Regions from separate parts of the Homo sapiens genome. Here region 1 is linked to region 2. The links are contacts of gene promoters, found by promoter capture Hi-C in blood cells and fetal thymus (Javierre and others, 2016). All regions are on one chromosome and are shown on one strand. Each heading gives the region's core, a stretch centred on a gene start or on the middle of the fragment in contact. The rest is flanking DNA. Distances are from core to core; before and after follow the strand shown. Region 1 holds the start of MIOX (myo-inositol oxygenase). Region 2 overlaps PPP6R2 (protein phosphatase 6 regulatory subunit 2).

Region 1 (4,673 bases), core at 25-2,524, 63 kb after region 2:
AGGGGGAGATAGAAGGAGACAAACGTAGAAGGTAGAATAAGTGGGTGGTGGAGTGGCAGGGAGTGCTGAGTGCCACAGGAAGTCAGACAAGGAAGGAGAGTGTGGGGCAGGTGCCGTTTAAATGGGGGGCGCTGGGGTCTCCTCACAGTTGCTTCTCAGCTCAGCTGTGCCAGGATCTTGTTGAGTCAGGTCAGCTGCCCACAGCCCTCTTGCCTGACCCCTGAAGCCCAGAACTCTGATCTTCACAGCCCTAGGTATGGCCCCAGCACCCCACTGCCCTCTCTCCTGCCCCAGCCGACTGCTGTTCCCAGACTTCCCTGGCCACGCTCCAAGACGCCAGCTCTGCCGCGGGCACTTTGTTCTCACGGTGTCCTCCATGCCTGCAGGGCCCATGCATGGGAAGTTGCGTTGGCGGCCTGGGTGTTGGCGGTTCCGTGCCTGCTCCAACTCTCCGTGAGGCCCCTCTCCCAGAGCCTGACACACTCTGTGGCCGAACTCTAGGCAGGTGCCCCTGAGTCCTTTCCTCGACGAGGCCTGACCCCATCCCCATCCTCGCTGGGCCCGCCGACCCCGGTGTTAGCAAGAATCCTCTAAATCAGTTTATGGAGAATTACCCACCCTCGATATCTGATCCCATTCCTCATCTCCCACCCTTGATCTCATCACCCTGCCGGCCTCCTGCAAGATCCTCATTGAGCCACTCCAGTGAGAATCCCCCTACCCTCGAAGGCCGCCCTAACAACTTCCCATCCGCTGACCCCTCCAACGCCATCAATCTCCAGCTGTGGTTGTTGAACTCGGAGGTGAGCTCCTCTCACCACTCTCTTGAATAAAGCTTTTCTCACCATTTTAACAAGTCCTCAGAATCATCTTTTCTTAACAAGCTCCTGCCCCACCCAGAATCACGGGGGGCCTGGGGACAAGTTTTCACCTCCTGAGATCCAGTGGGGCAGCCGGGGAAGGGGTGGTGCAGAGGGGGCGTGTGCTTGAGGGTGGGGTCTTGGGTCTGCCCCTACTTGTGGGACCCCACAGAGGGGTCTAAGGCCAGGGCCCAAGTGGGAGGCTGGGCCCACAGATAACCCTAGGCAGGTCAGCGGCTCGGGACAGGAGTGTGAGGCTGAGTCAGGGCCAGAGGATGTGGGACTGCTGGGGGCTGCTGCTGTGCTGACACATTAACTCCCTGAGGCCGGGAGGAGGGTGGATGGTCATTTATTACTGCGGACACTTATGTAACCTGGGGTGTATATAGGAGCCTGGCTGAGGACACACTCGCCAGCCTGTGCTTTGCCACCTGAGCGCCGCTCCCTCTCAGGATGAAGGTGACGGTGGTGAGTACCCAGACCCCATGCAGAGAGGCTCTGCTGACTGCTCTCCTGGTGGCCAGCCACTCCCGCCCTCTTCTAGCTGGCACTGGCCAGCCCTCCTCCTCCGTCCAGCTGGGCAAGAGCCAGCGGCTGCCGACCCCCAGGCTCCCTGTGGACTCAGTCTCCTCCCAAAGCCACTTCCACCCCTCAAGGGTGGCCATGGGTGCCGCTCAGGCGTGGTGTCCCCTGTACCCCGGAAGCAGACGTCTGCTGACTTTCGCTTTGCAGATGAGGACCTGGGAGTGAGAGCTCCTGGGACTCGCTGAGGCCAGGGCAGGGGCTGGGATGATGGCGTGGGAGAGGCTGTGTCCTCGCGTGTCACCCACCAGCCCTCGAGCAGAGGCAGGCTTGGAGTCTGCAGCCACCCTGGGAATGTCTGTGCTTCCTCGTGGAGCTGACATGATGGTGAAATAGGTTCAATCCTCCACCTACCCAGGGCCCAGACCCTTCCCTGGTCTACCGACCTGATGTGGACCCAGAGGTGGCCAAAGACAAGGCCAGCTTCCGGAACTACACGGTGAGTACCTTGCCGTCCTGCCCCCCTTCTCCCCCATCCACACCCTGGGGAGCAGCACTTGCCCTTCACACAGTTCCAGGGGGTGCCCTGTGGGAACTCCCACCCCCATCACACCCTGTGGGGCTGCCTGGGAGAGGGGAGGCATGGGGCCTCGTGTGCAGGGTGGGGGTGGCGCCACTGACCCTCCGGCCTGCAGTCAGGTCCCCTCCTGGACCGTGTCTTCACCACCTACAAGCTCATGCACACGCACCAGACAGTGGACTTCGTCAGGAGCAAGGTAGGCGTTTCCTGCCGCCCCGTGCAAACGCGGAGGGACCCTTGCCCTCAGCCCCATGAGCCCACCAGGCGCCGAGGGGATGGAGAGGCCTGTGTGGTGGGCCTGCTGACCCTGGGCCACACTGCCTTCTCCTTCCCCGCCAGCATGCCCAGTTTGGGGGCTTCTCCTACAAGAAAATGACAGTCATGGAGGCCGTGGACCTGCTGGATGGGCTGGTGGATGAGTCGGACCCGGACGTAGATTTCCCCAACTCCTTCCATGCCTTCCAGACAGCGGAGGGCATCCGGAAGGCCCACCCAGACAAGGGTGAGCCCTGGCTGTGCTGCAGGGGGGCAGGTGCTGCCTCCAAGGGGCAGAATGCAGCAGCCTGTAGGGTGGGAGGGGACAGTAGTGGGCCCAGGCCTCCTCCAGCAGCCCTGCCTGGGTTGGGGAGCAGGCCCTGGACCCTTCCTGGCTCTCAGCCCCGCAAACCTGCTCATCCTCTGCCTTGGCCCCTGCAGTCCCCAACCTGCCCTGTCCATCCCCCTCCCAGACTGGTTCCACCTCGTCGGGCTCCTGCACGACCTGGGGAAGGTCCTGGCCCTGTTCGGGGAGCCCCAGGTAAGAGTTGGAAGTGGAGGGTGAGGAGGCTGCATGTTGAGGCAAGGTGGGGGTGGAGTGGCCTTGGTGCTTGGCCTGGGATACTACCTGGGGGACAGGCCAGTGCACCCCCCACGGCCCCCCGACGGCTGCCTGTCCCTCTGGTGGCCTCGGTGCTTGGCCTGGGATACTACCTGGGGGACAGGCCAGTGCACCCCCCACGGCCCCCCCCACGGCTGCCTGTCCCTCTGGTGGCCTCGGTGCTTGGCCTGGGATACTACCTGGGGGACAGGCCAGTGCACCCCCCACGGCCTCCCCGCACCACTCCCCCCACGGCCCCCCATGGCCGCCTGTCCCTCCTGTCACTCTGCAGTGGGCGGTCGTCGGCGACACCTTCCCCCACTTCCCCCACGGCCCCCCATGGCTGCCTGTCCCTCCTGTCCCTCCTGTCCCTCCCATCCCTCCCGTCCCTCCTGTCCCTCCCGTCCCTCCCATCCCTCCTGTCCCTCTGCAGTGGGCAGTCATCGGCAACATCTTCCCCCACTCCCCCCATGGCCGCCCGTCCCTCCTGTCCCTCTGCAGTGGGCAGTCATCGGTGACACCTTCCCCCACTCCCCCCATGGCCGCCCGTCCCTCCTGTCCTTCTGCAGTGGGTGGTCATCGGCGACACCTTCCCCCACTCCCCCCATGGCCTCCCGTCCCTCCTGTCCCTCTGCAGTGGGCTGTCGTCGGCGACACCTTCCCCGTCGGATGCCGTCCGCAGGCCTCCGTGGTTTTCTGCGACTCCACCTTCCAGGACAACCCTGACCTCCAGGATCCTCGATACAGGTGCTCCCTGCTGCTGAGGGCTGGGCCCCCTTCCCTGGGCGGCTGCTGAGCCCTCCTCACCCTGGTATCTCACTGCAGCACAGAGCTCGGGATGTATCAGCCCCACTGTGGGCTCGACAGGGTCCTCATGTCCTGGGGCCATGATGGTGAGGCCAGAGGCGGGCAGTGGGGCGGTGGGGGGCGGTGGGGGACGGTGGGGGGCGGTGGGGCAGAGGCAGTGCCTGCTGGTGACACCCTCTCCCCACAGAGTACATGTACCAGGTGATGAAGTTTAACAAGTTCTCACTGCCCCCTGAGGTAGGTGGGGGGAGGGGCAACGCAGCCCGTCCACCAGGCCCGGTCCTGCAGCCCCAAGTGAGCCGCTGGGTGGCCTTGCCCGCAGGCTTTCTACATGATCCGGTTCCACTCCTTCTACCCCTGGCACACGGGCCGCGACTACCAGCAGCTGTGCAGCCAGCAGGACCTGGCCATGCTGCCCTGGGTGCGGGAGTTCAAGTACGCCCCGCTACCCGCCGAGGGGTGTTGTGGGAGTGAAAGAGGGGGTTGGGTGGGGGGCCTGGGGGTTCTTCACGGGGCTCACCGCCCCTCCCTGCTGCAGCAAGTTCGACCTCTACACCAAGTGCCCGGACCTGCCGGACGTGGACAAGCTGCGGCCCTACTACCAGGGGCTCATTGACAAGTACTGCCCTGGCATCCTGAGCTGGTGACCCTCCTGCCACCCAAGCTGCTGCTGGACCTAGGCCTGGCCCTCCGCCTGCCTGGAGAGGCCTGGCCCTGGGCAAACAGCCGCCATCAGGGTTCACCTCGGTGGGGGACCCCACTCACCCCCTTAGGGTCGCCACCCCTCACGGCAACTTGTGCCTGGCGTCAATAAAGACCTGGAAGGATGTTGTGCTTCTGAAGCCCCACTGGGTGTTACTGCAGCAGGGCGTGGCCCAGGCCGAGGGATGGTGCCAGCAGGGTGGAGGCCAAGTCCCAGGCTTTCAGGTGTGTGTGTCCCACCACACTGGCCGTGGTAAACATCTGCCCATCCTCCCAGCTCCTGTGTCAGAGCCTGGGGGACGAGTCACCCAGCTCACCCCCACATGCTCAAAACAGTCACCAAGTC
Region 2 (4,845 bases), core at 307-2,806:
TTGGTGGACTCCTTTTCTCAGGGACTGGAAAGGTCATACGCTGTCAGCAGCAGCGTACTACACGGCATCGAGCCTCGGCTGAAGGACTTCCACCAGCTCCTGCTCAACCCGCCCAAGGTAAATGGCCGTGGCGACTGCTGAGTGCCTTTGGAGGCGTCGCAGGAGAGGTTGATTTGCAGGGAGGAGAAGCCACAGCTTGTCCCATAGGTAGCAGAGTGTGGAGTGAATGTGTTCTAAGACGGCCATTCCCACACCCCCACTTGAGAAGCACCGGGCAGGTGCCAAAACACATTTTCAGGACTGCCCCTCCCAGATCTGCAAATGCTCATCTCTGCCTCTGCAAATGACCCCGAGGTCACCATAAGCCTGGCCTCCAAGTTGGGGGCACCTAGCTAAGGGGTGCTCGGCTCCTGAGAGGGGACCAGGGGGTGGCAGGGGAGGCCCTTTGCCCTGCTCAGCAGCATGTTGAGGGGGGTGAGGCACACAAAGGCTCCTCCTGGTTCAGACTGCCAGCCAGGCAACTCCCCATCCCGTCTCACCCTCCCCAGACACAACCCGACCCCTGCTGCATAGCACCCTCCTGACCTATAGCTCAGTTCCTCTCACTCGCCACCTTGGTAAGATCCACCTGTCCCACTAGCGAGCTCTGTGGGGGCCAAGATTCTGTTTTGTCAGCTGGAGGTTTCAGTGAAGAGAAGGTAGGTGCAGTAGGCTGAGTGTGGGGGATCAGAAAAGACCGCGGTCCATCGGAGGAGGCATTCCCGTCAGTGTCCCCAAAGTGTGTTCATGGGACACTTGTTAGCTTGGTGTTCTGAGATTGTGGCCGCAGAGGGACCCCCACTGGGCATCCTCAGTGAGGCATCGTGCCAAGGGCTCTGGCCTTAGACCGGTACTGCTGGCCCCATCTTGGACATCTCACCCGCTGAGGTGCACGGCTCTCTGGCCCTGCAGGCTCAGACTGGAGTGCCCGTGAGCATCCTGGGAGCACTCTCTGAAGCCCTGAGGGGAGCAGCAGGCTCTTCACCCCATTGATGCCTTCATTTCTTCTGGCAGACGGCCCTCCCTGAGGAACCCCCACCACATACCTCGCTACCCCAGGCTGGGTCCCAGCCTAGAGTGATGGGCATGAGCCCAGAGACTCCAGCAGTGGCCTCACTGCTCACAGGGCCTAACTGGGTGGTGCCTTCTGTGTTTGCAGAAGAAAGCGATCCTGACCACCATTGGTGTGCTGGAGGAGCCCCTGGGGAATGCCCGTCTGCATGGCGCCCGCCTCATGGCAGCACTGCTGCACACAAACACACCCAGCATCAACCAGGAGCTCTGCCGGCTCAACACGATGGACTTACTGCTGGTAAGTGGGCCCCTCAGCCAGCCCTGCATGTCTGTGAGTGTGCCGGGCATGGCCTGTGGACTTGTCAGGAGCAGCAGAGCAGGGCCCCAGCATTTGGACAAAGCTCTGCCACGGGGAGGTTCCAGTCCCAAGTCCCAAGGCTGGACTACAGGTCTCTGGCGGGGCACAGAGCAGCAGTGGGGTGTGTCTCAGCTGCAGGCTCATGGGAAGTGACGAGTCTACCGTAGAATTGCCCTGAAAGCAGAAGGCGGATTTCTAACCCGGTTTGATGGAATAGAGTGACACGTCTACCTCCTTTCTCATGTTCTGACTGAACAACATAGAACTTACACGGTGGTTATTAGGTATAAAATGGCTAAAAGAGAAGCTCCTGTCGTCCACAGTAGAAGGCCAACCTGGCAGTTTTTGTCAAAGCCAGCGGGCAGTGCCTCTCCATCCCGCAGACGGCTTGCATGATGCTCCAGGTGGCTGAGGAGAGGAAGGGGCAGGCGGTGCTGGCAAGTAGTGCCAGTGAGCAGCCCTGGCTGTGGGTGGCGGGCTCCTCTGCGGAGAGCATGAGGCTGCTCCCCTGAGAACGAAGGGCACTGCCCTAGTGGGTCCTGTTGGCAGACGCAGCCCCCGTCTTCTGCCTGGCTCTGGGGCTCTGCTGGAATCTCCCTGCAATCTTAGTCCCAGAACTGGGCTCGAAGTGCTGTCTGGCTCAGTTCTGTCAGCGTGTGGAAGGTCTGTCCGCGTGTGGAAGGTCCGTCCGCGTGTGGAAGGTCCGTCCGCGTGTGGAAGGTCCGTCAGTGTGTGGAAGGTCCGTCCGCGTGTGGAAGGTCCGTCCGCGTGTGGAACGTCTGTCAGCGTGTGGAAGGTCCGTCCGCGTGTGGAACGTCTGTCAGCGTGTGGAAGGTCTGTCCGCGTGTGGAACGTCTGTCAGCGTGTATGAGTTCTGGGCACTGCTTTGGCTGTGAGATCCCAGTCTGCATCAGGGAAGCAATTACAAAAGAGACCTACTTTCCTTTTCCCTCTTCTTCTTTTTTTTTTTTTTTTTTTTTTTGAGATGGAGTCTCTCTCTGTCGCCAGGCTGGAGTGCAGTGGCGGGACCTTGGCTCACTGCAATCTCCGACTCCCTGGTTCAAGCGATTTTCCTGCCTCAGCCTCCCGAGTAGCTGAGATTACAGGCATGCGCCACCATGCCCAGCTAATTTTTTTTTGTATTTTTAGTAGAGACGGGGTTTCACCGTGTTGGCCAGGATGGTCTCAAACTCCTGACCTCGTGATCCACCCGCCTTGGCCTCCCAAAGTGCTGGGATTACAGGCTTGAGCCACTGCACCCAGCCCCTTTTCCTTCTTCAAAAGAATTCTGTCTTCCACTTTCTTCCTCTCTTTTATATTTACTGTGGTAAAATATCATAACATAAACTTGGCTGTTTTAACTATTTTAAGGTGTGTCACTCAGTGCATTCACAATCTTGTATAGCCATTACCATTATTCACATCTAGAAGTTTTTCATTTTCCCAAACAGAAACTCTCTCCGTTAAACACTAACTCCCCATTCATTCTCCCTCTCCACAGTCTCTGGCAACCACCATTGTCTTTGTCTCTGAATTTGACTATTCTAGGTACAGTTTATGAGTGGAATCATAAAGTATTATCTTTTTGTGACTGACTTATTTCACTTAGCACTATGTGCCCAAGGTTCATTCAGTATTGTACTGTATGTCCAAATTTCCTTCCTTTTTAAGGCTGAAAAATTACTGTGTGGGTGGGCCACATTCTGTCCATTCATCCATCCATCAGTGGAGACTTGGGTTGCTTCCAGCCTTGGCTATTGTGAATAACACTGCTGTATATGTGGGTGTACAAATACCTGTTTGAGTCCTTACTTTCAGTTCTTCTGAAAGTAAGAAGAAGTTCTTCTGGATAAATACCTATGAGGCCAGGTCATGTGACAATTCCATGATTAAGTTTTGAGGCCAGACCTTTCCACAGTGGCTGCACCATTTTATCTTCCTGTCAACAAAGTCTCCCCTTTCTCCTCATCCTCCCCCTCATCCCGCCGACACTTGTCTTCCTTCTTCTGATGCTCGTCATCTGATGTGCGTGTGGAACGGTGTCTCCGTGTGGCTGATGCTCGTCATCTGATGTGCGTGTGGAACAGTGTCTCCGTGTGACAAGTGATGTCGAGCATCTTCTCGTGCTTTTTGGCCATGTGAATAGCTTCGTTGGAGAAATGTCTATTCAAGTCCTTTGACCATTTTTGAATTGAGTTTTTTTTTTGTTTTTTTTTTTTAGTTTTAGAAGTTCTATATATATTCTGGATATTAATCCTTTATCAGATATATGCAAATATTTTCTTTGGGTTATCTTTTTACATAAAAAATTTTTTTTAGATGTAGGGTCTTGCAGTACAGTGATCATAGCTTCCTGTAACCTTGAACTCCTGGGCTCAAGTGATCCTCCCACCTCAGCCTCCTGAGTAGCTAAGACTGCAGGCATGCGCCACCACATCCAGCTAATTTTTATATTTTTTGTAGAGATGGGGTCTCGCTATGTTGATCAGGCTGGCCTTGAACTCCTGACTTCAAGTGATGCTCCGGCCGTGGCCTCCCAAAGTGCTGGAATTATAGGCGTGAGCCACCAGCCACCCAGCCTTTACTCCTTGATAATGACCTTTGACACACAAGTTTTAAATTTTGATGAAATCCAATTATCTTTTTTTCTCTGTTGCCTGTGCTTTCGGTGTCATATCCAAAAAAGTCATTGCCAAATCAGTATCATGAAGCTTTTCCTCTATGCTTCCTTCAAAAAGTTGTATGTTTTCTCTCTTATGTTTAGGTCTTTAATCCATTTTGAATTAATTTTTGTATCTGGTGTAAAGTAAGGGTCCAGCTTCATTCTTTTGCATGGGGTTATCCAGTTTTCCCAGCACTTGTTGAAAAGACTGTCCTAGGCCGGGCACGGTGGTTCACGCCTGTAAACCCAGTATTTTGGGAGGCCAAGGCAGGCAGATCACCTGAGGTCAGGAGTTTGTGACCAGCCTGGCCAATGTGGCGAAACCCCATGTCTACAAAAAATACAAAAATTAGCCAGGCATGGTGGCAGCGCCTGTAATCCCAGCTACTTGGGAGGCTGAGGCAGGAGAATCACTTGAACCTGGGAGGCGGAGGTTGCAGTGAGCCAAGATCACACCACTGCACTCCAGCCTGGGTGACAGAGCGAGATTCTGTTTCAAAAAAAAAAAAAAAAAACACCGTCCTTTCCCCCATGAATGGTCTCGGCCTAATTGTTAAAAACCAGCTGGCCGGCCGGGCGCAGTGGCTCATGCCTGTAATCCCAGCACTTTGGGAGGCTGAGGTGGGTGGATCATGAGGTCAGGAGATTGAGACCATCCTGGCCAACATAGTGAAACCCCGTCTCTGCTAAAAATATGAAAAAATTAGCTGGGTGTGGTGGCATGTGCCTGTAGTCCCAGCTACTTGGGAGGCTGAGGCAGGAGAATGGTGTG

Evidence for each region. The method cuts DNA at HindIII sites, captures the fragments that hold promoters and counts their contacts. A CHiCAGO score of 5 or more calls a contact.
Region 1: the fragment with the promoter of MIOX here is called in contact with a fragment that was not itself captured in region 2 in 7 of 17 cell types (megakaryocytes, fetal thymus, M1 macrophages and 4 more); the score reaches 5.5 in megakaryocytes.

What each region holds. Positions count from the first base shown.
Region 1 is chr22:50,485,585-50,490,257 of GRCh38, forward strand. It overlaps MIOX (myo-inositol oxygenase), which reads left to right and starts at 1,275. Exons shown (of 10, transcript NM_017584.6): 1 at 1,275-1,328; 2 at 1,801-1,881; 3 at 2,078-2,158; 4 at 2,302-2,464; 5 at 2,691-2,758; 6 at 3,456-3,565; 7 at 3,644-3,711; 8 at 3,813-3,862; 9 at 3,948-4,060; 10 at 4,164-4,673. The coding sequence starts at 1,314. The coding sequence ends at 4,272. ADM2 (adrenomedullin 2) reads left to right here. Exons shown (of 3, transcript NM_001253845.2): 3 at 1-853. The HindIII fragment of the contact is 4,673 bases long and covers 834-4,673 here.
Region 2 is chr22:50,422,264-50,427,108 of GRCh38, forward strand. PPP6R2 (protein phosphatase 6 regulatory subunit 2) reads left to right here. Exons shown (of 24, transcript NM_001242898.2): 9 at 1-117; 10 at 1,199-1,351. Among named protein-coding and RNA genes, the nearest start is that of MIR12114, 17 kb to the left of the region's middle. The HindIII fragment of the contact is 5,127 bases long and covers 1-4,120 here.